2 separate regions of the Homo sapiens genome follow, and region 2 is linked to region 1. The links are contacts of gene promoters, found by promoter capture Hi-C in human tissues and cell types (Jung and others, 2019). All regions are on one chromosome and are shown on one strand. Each heading gives the region's core, a stretch centred on a gene start or on the middle of the fragment in contact. The rest is flanking DNA. Distances are from core to core; before and after follow the strand shown.

Evidence for each region. Contacts are between HindIII fragments. The study calls those that stand out against the background at their distance.
Region 2: a contact is called between a fragment that was not itself captured here and the fragment with the promoter of SUOX in region 1, in 1 of the 25 tissues and cell types used here (pancreas).

What each region holds. Positions count from the first base shown.
Region 1 is chr12:55,993,707-55,999,304 of GRCh38, reverse strand. It overlaps SUOX (sulfite oxidase), which reads right to left and starts at 2,029. Exons shown (of 5, transcript NM_001032386.2): 1 at 1,966-2,029; 2 at 1,582-1,690. RAB5B (RAB5B, member RAS oncogene family) reads right to left here. Exons shown (of 6, transcript NM_002868.4): 6 at 2,622-5,598. RefSeq lists a silencer at 1,980-2,169 and an enhancer at 1,755-2,255. The HindIII fragment of the contact is 9,188 bases long and covers 88-5,598 here.
Region 2 is chr12:56,207,170-56,212,767 of GRCh38, reverse strand. It overlaps RNF41 (ring finger protein 41), which reads left to right. Exons shown (of 7, transcript NM_005785.4): 4 at 2,200-2,471; 5 at 4,470-4,605; 6 at 5,019-5,122. Among named protein-coding and RNA genes, the nearest start is that of RNF41, 12 kb to the left of the region's middle. RefSeq lists a silencer at 4,589-4,638. The HindIII fragment of the contact is 6,706 bases long and covers 1-5,598 here.

The DNA of each region.
Region 1 (5,598 bases), core at 780-3,279:
GTGGAGCGCACCTGTGGTCCCATCTACTCTGGAGGCTGAGAAGATCTAAGCCCAGGAGTTTGAGGTTACAGAGTGAGCTGACTGTGCCACTGCACTTCAGCTTGGGCAACAGAGAGCGAGACCCTGTCTCAAAACAAAAACAAAAAAAAGTTATATGAATGTGGTCTCTCTCTCAAAATATACTTTTTTTTGGCCAGTCATGGTGGCTCATGCCTATAATCCCAAAATTTTGGGAGGCCAAGGAAGGAGGATCACTTGACTCCAGGAGTTCAAGACCAGCTTGGGCAACATAGTGAGACTGTGTCTCTAGAAAAAAAAAAACAAATTAACTGGGCATGGTGGTGCCTGTCTGTAGTCTCAGCTACCGGGGTGGTGGGGAGAGGAGTGCTGAGATGAGAGGATGGCTTGAGTCCAGGAGGTCGAGACTGCAATGAATTATGATGGCGCCACCGTACTCCAGCCTGGGCAACAGGGCAAGACCTTGTCTCAAAAAAAAAAAAAGCCTGGGCGATGGAGCAAGTGTCGATCATGGCTCACTGAAGCTTCAACCTCTTGGGCTCAAGCCATCCTCCTGCCTTAGCCTCCCCAGCAGCTGGGACTACAAGTGTGTGTCACCAAGCCTGGCTAATTTTTCTGTAGACATGGGAGTCTATGTTGTCAGGGCTGGTCTTGAACTCCTGGCCTCTTGCTGCCTTAGCCCCCAAAGTGCTGGGATTACAGGCATGAGCCACTGTCCGGCTTCCCCTCCCCTCCCCCTGCCCCTGACAGGGTCTTGCTCTGCCCAGGCTGGAGTGCAGTGGCGTGATCTCAGCTCACTATAGCATCAAACTTCTGGGCTCAAGCCATCCTCCTGCCTCAACCTCCTGAGTAGCGGGGACCACAGGCGTGTGCCACCATGCATGGTCTTTTTTTTTTTTTTTTTGTAGAGATGAGGTCTTACTATGTTGCCCAGGCTGGTCTCAAACTCCTGGGTTCAAGTGATCCTTCAAACTTGGTCTCACAAAGTCCTGGGATTATTACAGGCATGAGCCACCACTCCCAGCCTCAAAATATCTTATTGTACTGTGTTCAACTATTTTCCAAGCGGTTGACCATAGCTAACTGAAACTCAGGAAAAGGAAACTTTGGATAAGGGGAGACTGCTGTAATAACATTGTCTTTGAAGGCTTTTCAGTCCCCAACTCTCCCTCCATTCACCCTAAAAAAAATTGAACCCAGCTGGGAACTGGACCCCAACCTAGGGTCCCGGACCACCTCAATCTTCTCTGTGCCACTGTAGTGAGCTCAGCAAATTGAGGAGTTAATGGCCAGAGTGTCAGGGGCAGGCTGGAGAAGGAAGGTAATTTTTCTGCTCTCTGCCCTGCAAGTTTCTTCCTCAAATTGCTGAACAGAGAGCACTGACCCAGCAGGGCCAAAGTGAGGAGGGGTGACAAATGTCTAAACTGCTGATGAGATGCTGGAGACCAATGTGCTGGGGTGGGTGGGTCGTGGGTAGGGAGGAAAGGAAACCTAGAGATGGGAATAGGAGCAGTCTTCACCTTGCCCCTGGGCCATGGGACCATTACTCTCTCTGCCACCTACCTCAATGCCAGCAGCCTGTTTGTACTAGACCAGAGCAGTGCAGGTAGGGCTGACTCGCAGGTGAACTCAGTGAGCCCAGAATCCCAGGTTTGGGAGGGACAGCCTTTTGCTGTAATACAGAAATGCCACCCGTTGGTGCAGGTGATGACCCCTCACTCCCCATGGGCACGTTAGGTAGGAACATACGTCCGGCATCCAGGCACAAAAGGGTCTTGCGGCAACACCCCGCGATCTCAAGAGCACCCAGACAGAAGGAGTGGAGGCAGGTACTGATAGTTTTGTTGCCCTTGAGGTTCGGAGCACAGCTGGACACCAAGGCCCCCTCCGCTGCCCAGCTCAGCAGCCCTTCCTCCCCAGCTTCTTTACCACCCCCAGTCTCCTTACCGGGTCCAGTGTCTTCAGCACTGCAATTTTACCAGCCCAGCTCTGCGAGTTCTCGAGAAGGGGCGGGGCCAGCGCCGTTATGTCCGGCTGCAGTAAGTGACCTCTCACTCCCCTCAGCTTATCCCTCAGCCATTGGCTGGAAGCGGGTGGCTCAACCATTGGCTGGAACCCGCCTCCTGGAGCCGAGACAGGCAGGTTGCTAAGAAGCCTGGGAGAAGAGGCTGGCTCTTTTTGCTGTCACTCTCGCCAACAGTCCGGAGTCCATTATACCCCTGGTGTGCAAAGAATGGGACCCTTGTGCACCAGGGCTGTATGTCCGGAGCTCGGGCAGTGTGGAAGGTGACAAGGAATCCAAAAGTTGGGCTGACAGGTGGGAGATTTTGAGACACCCCTGCCGCCCCTCCCTGGAGGAGGCCTCGGGATCCAGTCCGGTTTTCCCCGGCTGTGATCTCCACTTTAAACCCAGGGTAGACCTACCTCTATCTACTCTGTTGCAACTACAACTACCCTGTTTATCTTTTAGGGAAAGCAAAGTCAATCGCTTAGTTCTCGTATTCCAGGAATGATAACAGAAATGCCTAAAATAGTGGTTCCAAGAATTTGAGATTCCTTGGGCTAGTCGAATTTCTCCCCAAACAAAAATGAAACAACAACACTGAATAGCCGTCTTTTATTTTGCGTAGAAAAAAAAAATAATAATCGCCCCTTGGTGGCACACGCCTGTAGTCCCAGTACTCGGGAGGCTGAGGCGGGAGGATCGCTTAAGCCCAGGAGTTCGAGGTTGCACTGAGCCAAGATCGCGGCACTGCACTCCAGCCTGGACAACAGAGCAAGACCCCATCTCTTAAAAAACAAACTGCCCCTTAACAAGAGCAATGGCAGCTTAACACCCCGAAGTATGAAGGTTGTAGTCTCTTATCTCAAAGTAAGGGGCATAAATATAATACATTTCCTATTACCCTTTTGTCATTTGATGCAGGACAAAATTTATCAAACCTAGTCCCCCAATCTGGACAAATGTATCCATACACTGCCCTCTAGAGGCCGGACGGTGGAGCTGCAATTTTAATCAGTTTAAGTGAAGGTGTTCACCTTTAATTTTGAAAGATCATTTCCTTTCCTTTCGGCTCTCCAACTAGAGCTTTTACCAGGAATCAGGGAACGGGGGTGGGGGGTATTACCAAGAGATATAAGGTAAGGGAACCGACAGTGAAAAGTTGGCAAGTTGGCTTTGGCTCTTAAGTGTTTGGAAATGGAAAGGATTTCAATCTGTATACAATCAAATCACTGAAGAAGGCTAATGCCCAACCTATCCTACCAGTTGTTAAAAAAAAAATATATATATATATATATATGTATATATATATGGAGAGAGAGAGAGTGAGAGAGAGAGAGAGAGGGAGAAAGAGGGAGAGAGAGAGAAAGCGAGCTTCAACCTAAAAAAAAAAAAGTCTCAGCCAAAGGAAGATACAGAGAAGTCAGTTAGGGACTATCTAAAAGCCTCCTTCCTAATAGTGTCATCTACTTTTGTGTGACACACATACTTTACATAATTGACCTTAATCTTCAGCTTTTACTTTACAGATGAAGAAACGAGGCGGAAGGCACTAACTAACTTGATCAAGGCCACAGCTGGTTAAGTTGACAGAGACAGGCCTAGAATGTCAGATTTGTCTGGCACCAGTCCTCTTTCCTATCCACCTTCAGATTCTTTGGAATTTAAAGCCTACTGCAACCACACATAATCCTATTTCATTTCCCTTCCCTCGACCTTTAGACTGTGGTGGACTGAAGGGTTTGAAGTACACTAGGAGTCAAGAGCAGATCCAGAGGAAATTTTCCCGTTGAGGTGGAAGCTACAAGAAAACTAACTCAGTGATGTTTTTCAACCTTTGGGTCATGGACCCCTTTGAGAAACATATAGAAATGGATCCTAGAAATATGCACATACGGCCGGGCGCAGTGGCTCACGCCCGTAATCCCAGCACTTTGGGAGGCCAAGGTGGGTGGATCACGAGGTCAGGAGTTCAAGACCAGCCTGACCAACATGGTGAAACCCCGTCTCTACTAAAAATACAAAAATTAGCTGGGTGTGTTGGTGCGTGCCTGTAATCCTAGCTACTCAGGAGGCTGAGGCAGGAGAATCACTTGAACTCAGGAGGCGGAGATTGCTGTGAGCCAAGATCGTGCCACTGTACTCCAGGCTAGCGACAGAGACTCCGTCTCAATTAAAAAAAAAAAAAGAAATATGCACATACATTTTTGTATACTACTTCAAATAGCACCCCTCTCTCTAATCTGATCAGTGGGCCCAAAGATCCACAGACCATACCCTACACATATACATTCTGTTAAGAGGGCCTAAAAAGATATAATAGGGTTTGATTTGATGAACAATCTAGTGGCCTTAGAAGAGGGGTGATTAAATAGCAATAGAAGGGCTATTTTCTAAACTAGATGTTTAAGAAAAGATTAAAGGGAATAAAGATGTATCAAGATGCAGGGAAAGGTGTGTTTCTGATTCAGTAGAACATTACTGGGTATCCTTTCTTCCAAATTCCTAGTACCTGACAAATAGCAAAAATAATAATAATAATAACAATAAAATAAAAAAAAGCAACACTCCAATGCCCTTTTCTTTTTTTCCTTTTTTTACTTACATTAAATACATCGGTAAATCAGCAGTCGCATTCTGTTACCACGATTGTTATGTTGGGAGAGGAAGAAAGGCAAATGCTTTCTCAGAAGCAAAACAAAAACAAAAAACCACAACACCCCCCCTTAAAAAAACTGACCAGAAGAAAAAAATGAGCTGGGAAATAAACAAAAGAAAACTAAGATCCCCAAGCCCAACAGAGCTCAAAGGAAGGCAGAAGAGGTGGTAGGAAGTAGAGGGAAGGCAGCCGATAGGCCCAGAAGCTAAGGCCAAATCCTGTTCCTATGGGGGTGGGGGGAGGGAGAAGCCTGGGGAAGTGGTTTCCCAGGCCCAAGATAATGAAACATCTTCACTCCTGCTCCAAGGGGGAAAGCTGCACAGAGAAAGAACTTCATTTCTAGAAGACTTTGGAAAGCCATCCTAGTTCTTCCACTTGTAAAAAGGATGCACTGGGTGCTATGGGGGGCCAGTGGCTTCTGGGAAAGGAAGGGGGAAATGTGTGTGTTTCAGGGCCATGGGAACTAAGGCTGCCCCTGGAAAAGGAAGGGAATTGAGGCCTAAGTGGAAGAACCTAAGCTGGGTCCTTCAGAATCTCAGCTTCATAGATTTCTCAGCTGTTCTGGGATAGAAGGCAGTCTGCAAGCCAAAAGGGCAGGAAGGTTCCAATCCTAGGTCACTGTGACCTTTCCTTTCTTTCTTTCCCAAAACTCCGGGCTGGAACAAGGAACTTAAAGTTCTCTTTTGCCTTGATGGCTTCTCAGAGACATCTTAAAACACCTGATGAAGGATATGAAGAGAGACTAGAGATTTAGAAAGGACCAAGGTCCTCTGATAATATGAGCCAGTTGTAAGGTACCTTCAGTGCCGGTCATTCCCTCTCCACAGGAACAGGTGGTATGATACGAGGGCACCACAGGAGGCCTCTGTGGTACTAGCCCCTATTGGTACATGGATTAAACCACTGGTTGCATGATGGG
Region 2 (5,598 bases), core at 1,688-4,187, 210 kb before region 1:
TTCTCCCAGTACTACTCCAAAAGGAGTACTGATGCCTTGAGCTGAATAAAATTCAGACTGCATTCCAATGGCAACCAACTCTGGACCTGTCTTCTTTCTAGGCCTTTGCAGTCTGCTGCCATTAGAGGCATATTAGATGGGTGTGGAGCAAGTCATCAAGTAGTAGTGTCAAGAGGTCACAGGGTGTGTCAGGTTCCCTCCTCACCCTGGCAGGGCCTTGTCTGTTTTCTGGCACTATCATTTTAGGCAAGTCACTTATGGAAAGGTGAGTCGTAGTTGGTGACAGTCTAGTCAGAAGCCACCCATCTACCTCCAGGCTTTATCTTCTGAGGAGCAGAGCAGGCAACCCTCATGATGCCAGGTTCCCAGACACATTTCTAAGGTTAGAAGGCTCCTGCTAGGGATGCTGATTTCCCCACATCATAATTATTTATTTTTTGAATAGGTGAAAAATGAACATAGTTCAGAAATCAAAAGGTATACAGTGAGAATTCTCACTTCTGTCTTTATTACTGTGCACCTAATTCCCCCACAGATAACTATTTTTATTAGTTTATTTGGTATCCTTCCAGTGTGTCTTAAGGCAGATATAAGCAAATATGAATAGATGTCTGCATATATATGTATTTGTGTATACATATGTATATATGAATATATCTGTGTTTCACCATGTTGGCCAGTCTGGTCTTGAACTGATCTCAAGTGATCTGCCTGCCTTGGCCTCCCAAAGTGCTGGGATTACAGGCATGAGCCACCATGCCCGGCCTTATTTAGCTTTGTTTTGTTTTGTTTTTTTGAGATGGAGTCTCACACTTTAGCCTAGGCTGGAGTGCAGTGGCATGATCTTGGCTCACTGCAAGCTCTGCCTCCCAGGTTCACGCCATTCTTCTGCCTCAGCCTCCTAAATAGCTGAGACTACAGGCACCCGCCACCACGCCCGGCTAATTTTTTGTATTTTTAGTAGAGACAGGGTTTCGCTATGTTAGCCAGGATGGTCTCAATCTCCTGACCTCATTATCCGCCCACCTCAGCCTCCCAAAGTGCTGGGATTACAGGCGCCATCCACCATGCCTGGCCTAGCTTTCTTACATTGAATTTTTGCCAGTAAATATGTCCTCCTCCTCTCTAAATCTATCATCTGAATTATCCTTCAAGACCCATATCAAATTCTGTCCTCTTCATAAATACCTGCCGTGATTGAGCTAGCCTGAAAAGACCTCACCCTCCTCTGGACATTTTTGGCAATTATTGTGTATGCAATCCAGATGGCAATTAATAATTGGCTGCCTTGTGTCATCTGTCCTATTGTCCTAGAATATCATTTGTATCTCTTATTGTTATATAACTTTTTACTTGTTTGTCTTGTTTCACAACTCATTTTTAATCTTGAGCACAGGGAATATATATATATATATTTATTTATTTATTTTGAAACAGGTTCTGGCTCTGTCACCCAGGCTGGAGTGCAGTGGTGCAGTCTTGGTTCACTGCAACCTCCGCCTTATGGGCTCAAGCCATCCTCCATCCTCCCACCTCAGCCTCCTGGCTAGCTGGGACTATAGGCACGTGCCACCAGGCCCAGCTTTTTTTTTTCGAGATGTATTGCCCAGGCTAGAGTGCAGTGGTGTGATCTTGGCTCACTGCAACCTCCACCTCCTGGGTTCAAGCTATTCTCCTGCCTTAGCCTCCTGAGTAGCTGTGATTACAGGCATGCGCCACCACCCCTGGCTAATTTTTTTATTTTTAGTAGAGACAGGGTTTCACCATGTCGGTCAGGCTGGTCTTGAACTCCTGACCTCATGATCCGCCTGCCTCGGCCTCCCAAAGTGCTGAGATTACAGGCGTGAGCCACTGCGCCCGGCCTATGCCCGGCTAATTTTTGTAATTTTTGTAGAGATGGGGTTTTGTCATGTTGTCTGGGATGGTCTCAAACTCCTGAGGTCAAGCAGTGTGCCTGCCTTAGCCTCCCAAAGTGCTGGGATTACAGGCATGAGCCACCGTGCCCAGCAGGAAACGTATCTTAAGCCTGTCCCCTACAATGCCTTGCCCGTAGTAGATCTATACTTTGCTGTGACCCAGTGGACCTCTTGTCGTAGAGGCTGCTCAAAGGCTTGATTGGCTTTGTAGAGTTATATCATATCCAGGCTCTTAGGTCCTGCTAATTCCCTTGCGCCCCTTTTGCCTTGTTCTCTCTTCTAGGCACCTCATTGTGAACATGCTTTCTGCAACGCCTGCATCACCCAGTGGTTCTCTCAGCAACAGACATGTCCAGTGGACCGTAGTGTTGTGACGGTCGCCCATCTGCGCCCAGTACCTCGGATCATGCGGAACATGTTGTCAAAGCTGCAGATTGCCTGTGACAACGCTGTGTTCGGCTGTAGTGCCGTTGTCCGGCTTGACAACCTCATGTCTCACCTCAGCGACTGTGAGCACAACCCGAAGCGGCCTGTGACCTGTGAACAGGGCTGTGGGTGAGATTTGTTCCCTTCTGCCCCACATGGATAAGGGCCATCTCATTTATGCCCCTGTCTCTGGCTGCCCTCCTCACTAGCTGAGGAGGTCTCTTTGGCATGTTGGCAAGGAGTATTCTTAGCCTCCTTGGCTTCCTGCTCTAAGATCTTACTTTCTTGCTGCTTTTCCAACTATAATCATTTTGCTCTTGCTTTAACAAAAGAAGGGGCACAGCAATTTAGTAAATTTGTGTAATAACATTAAAGCTTGATTGACTCTATTCTTCCCTTTCAGTCCAATACTACTTTCCGTTTGTCAGGTTGACTGCTATAATTGCCAGCCTTCTCATATTTCCTCTTGCCCTATTTTTTTATTTCTGTGGGTTATGAAATATTCGACTAAATGTTGATAGCTGAAGGGCATGTTAGCTCACACCTGTAATCCTAGCACTTTGGGAGGCCGAAGTGGGCAAGTCACTTCAGGCCAGGAGTTCAAGACCAACCTGGCCAACATGGCAAAACCTTGTCTCTACTAAAAATACAAAAATTAGCCAGGTGTGGGGCCGGGCGCGGTGGCTCACGCCTGTAATCCCAGCACTTTGGGAGGCCAAGGCGGGTGGATCACGAGGTCAGGAGATTGAGACCATCCTGGCTAACACATTGAAACCCCGTCTCTACTAAAAATACAAAAAACTAGCCAGGCGTGGTGGCAGGCACCTGTAGTCCCAGCTACTTGGGAGGCTGAGGCAGGAGAACGGCATGAACCTGGGACGGGGAGCTTGCAGTGAGCAGAGATTGAGCCACTGCACTCCAGCCTGGGCAACAGAGCGAGACTCCGTCTCAAAAAAAAAAAAAAAAAATTAGCCAAGTGTGGTGGTGCTCGCCTGTAATCCCAGCTACTCAGGAGGCTGAGGCATGAGAATCACTTAAAACCAGAGGTAGAGGTTGTAGTGAGCTGAGATCGCGCCATTGCACTCCAGCCTGGGTGACAGAATGAGACTCTGTTCCCCCTAACTAAAAAATAAAAAGAATGTTGATAGCTGGGGCTGTGAATATAGGGCTTCTCTGAAGGAATAAGTGCACAGGCAGAATCTGTAGGAGGAAAAGGAGAGCTGTGCAGTAGATAAAAACAGTGTGTCAAAATAAATAAATAGGCCCCGTGCGGTGGCTCACGCCTGTAATCCCAGCACTTTGGGAGGACGAGGCGGGCGGATCACCTGAGGTCAGGAGTTCAAGACCAGCGTGGCCAACATGGTGAAACCCCATCTCTACTAAAAATATAAAAATTAGCCAGGTGTGGTGGTGGGCACCTGTAATCCCAGCTACTCGGGAGGCTGAGGCACAAGAATTACTTGAACCCATGAGGCGGAGGTTGCAGTGAGCTGAGACCGTGCCATTGCACTCCAGCCTGGGTGACAAGAGTGAAACTTGGTCTCGAAAAAAAAAAAAAAAGGCCAGGCGCGGTGGCTCACGCCTGTAATCCCAACACTTTGGAAGGCCGAGGGGGGCAGATCACGTGAGGCCAGGAGTTTGAGACCAGCCTGGCTAACATGGAGAAACCCCATTTCTACTAAAAATACAAAAAGTTAGCCGGCCATGGTGGCGCGCACCTGTAATCCCAGCTACTCGGGAGGCTGAGGCAGGAGAATCGCTTGAACCTGGGAGGCAGAGGTTGCGCTGAGCTGAGATCATGCCATCGCACTCCAGTTTGGGCAACAAGAGCGAAACTCCGTGTCAAAAAAAATAATAAAAATACAAAATAAAATAAATTTAAAAAATAGATAAAACACTGTGTCTTGATTGGGGAAAGAAATTTAAGGAAAATAGACAGCAAAGGGGCAAGTAGGAAGCTTGGACGAAGAAAGTGAAGGGAATAAACAAGAGGGAGGCCTGAAATGAATGTTAGAAATTTTGGGTAGGACAAAATCTACTTAGCAGTTATCTGCCACAGAATAGGCCATTTGCATACATGTCCCAGGGATCACCTCTGTTCTGCTCTTTCCCCACCCTGGTCTGCAGCCTGGAGATGCCCAAAGATGAGCTGCCCAACCATAACTGCATTAAGCACCTGCGCTCAGTGGTACAGCAGCAGCAGACACGCATCGCAGAGCTGGAGAAGACGTCAGCTGAACACAAACACCAGCTGGCGGAGCAGGTAGGCCCCAAGACACGGGGGAGAACATATCCCTCATATGCAGATAACTGCCTGCCTGTGGGTAATAAAAACCAGTTGTGAACACACAGACCAGTGCTTACACTTGTGAGCCTAGATGAGTGGATATTCTGCCTGTGGCTTAGCAGGGAATCAGATTGGAGCTCTCCTTGACTTTTCTTCATCCCATTCATAGCATTAATTCACCTACCAGTTATCACATGCCTCCTCTGTGAAGGCACATTTGTAAGTACTAAGGAGACAGCTGTGAGTGAGACAGTCTTATCCCTGTCTTCCTGAAGCTTACAAACTGGTTGTTCTTCAGATCTCTCAGTTGCCCTCATTCTTGGATAAACTTTTGTCTTTTTTCTGCTGTCTGCCTTAACCATTATTCCTGTTCTTCTTCCCCACAACAGAAGCGAGACATCCAGCTGCTAAAGGCATACATGCGTGCAATCCGCAGTGTCAACCCCAACCTTCAGAACCTGGAGGAGACAATTGAATACAACGAGATCCTAGAGTGAGTGTCACTCAGGACGTGGAGTGATTTCATGTCCTGACAACAAGGCCTGAAAGGAGGAAGAGCAGGAGAGTAGCAGAAGGAGGGCATTGGAGAGCTGGGCTGGGGGTCACTGCTTCTCAGATATTGGCATTAAGGACAGGGGCAGAGGAGAAGAGGATAACCCTTAGCTCCACTACAGGATGTCTTATGTGTTTGGGTGGATGGAGGGAAAGCCTGCCCAAGGATGCACTTTATCCAGAATTAGGTGAGTACCCATGTACAAAGCCCTGTATTAAAGGCTGTGGAGTGCTAGGAGGGCCAAAAAGAAATAGAAGATATCGTCCTGTCTTCAGGTAGCTTACAACCCAGAGAAGAGGAGGCAGAGTGCAAGTCCAGGAAAGTGATCTCTAAAATGCAGCAAAAACAAGCGAAGTATACAAGTGAAGTCTAAGATCTCTTTCAGTTCTGGAGTCCTATACAGTTCATAGAGTAAA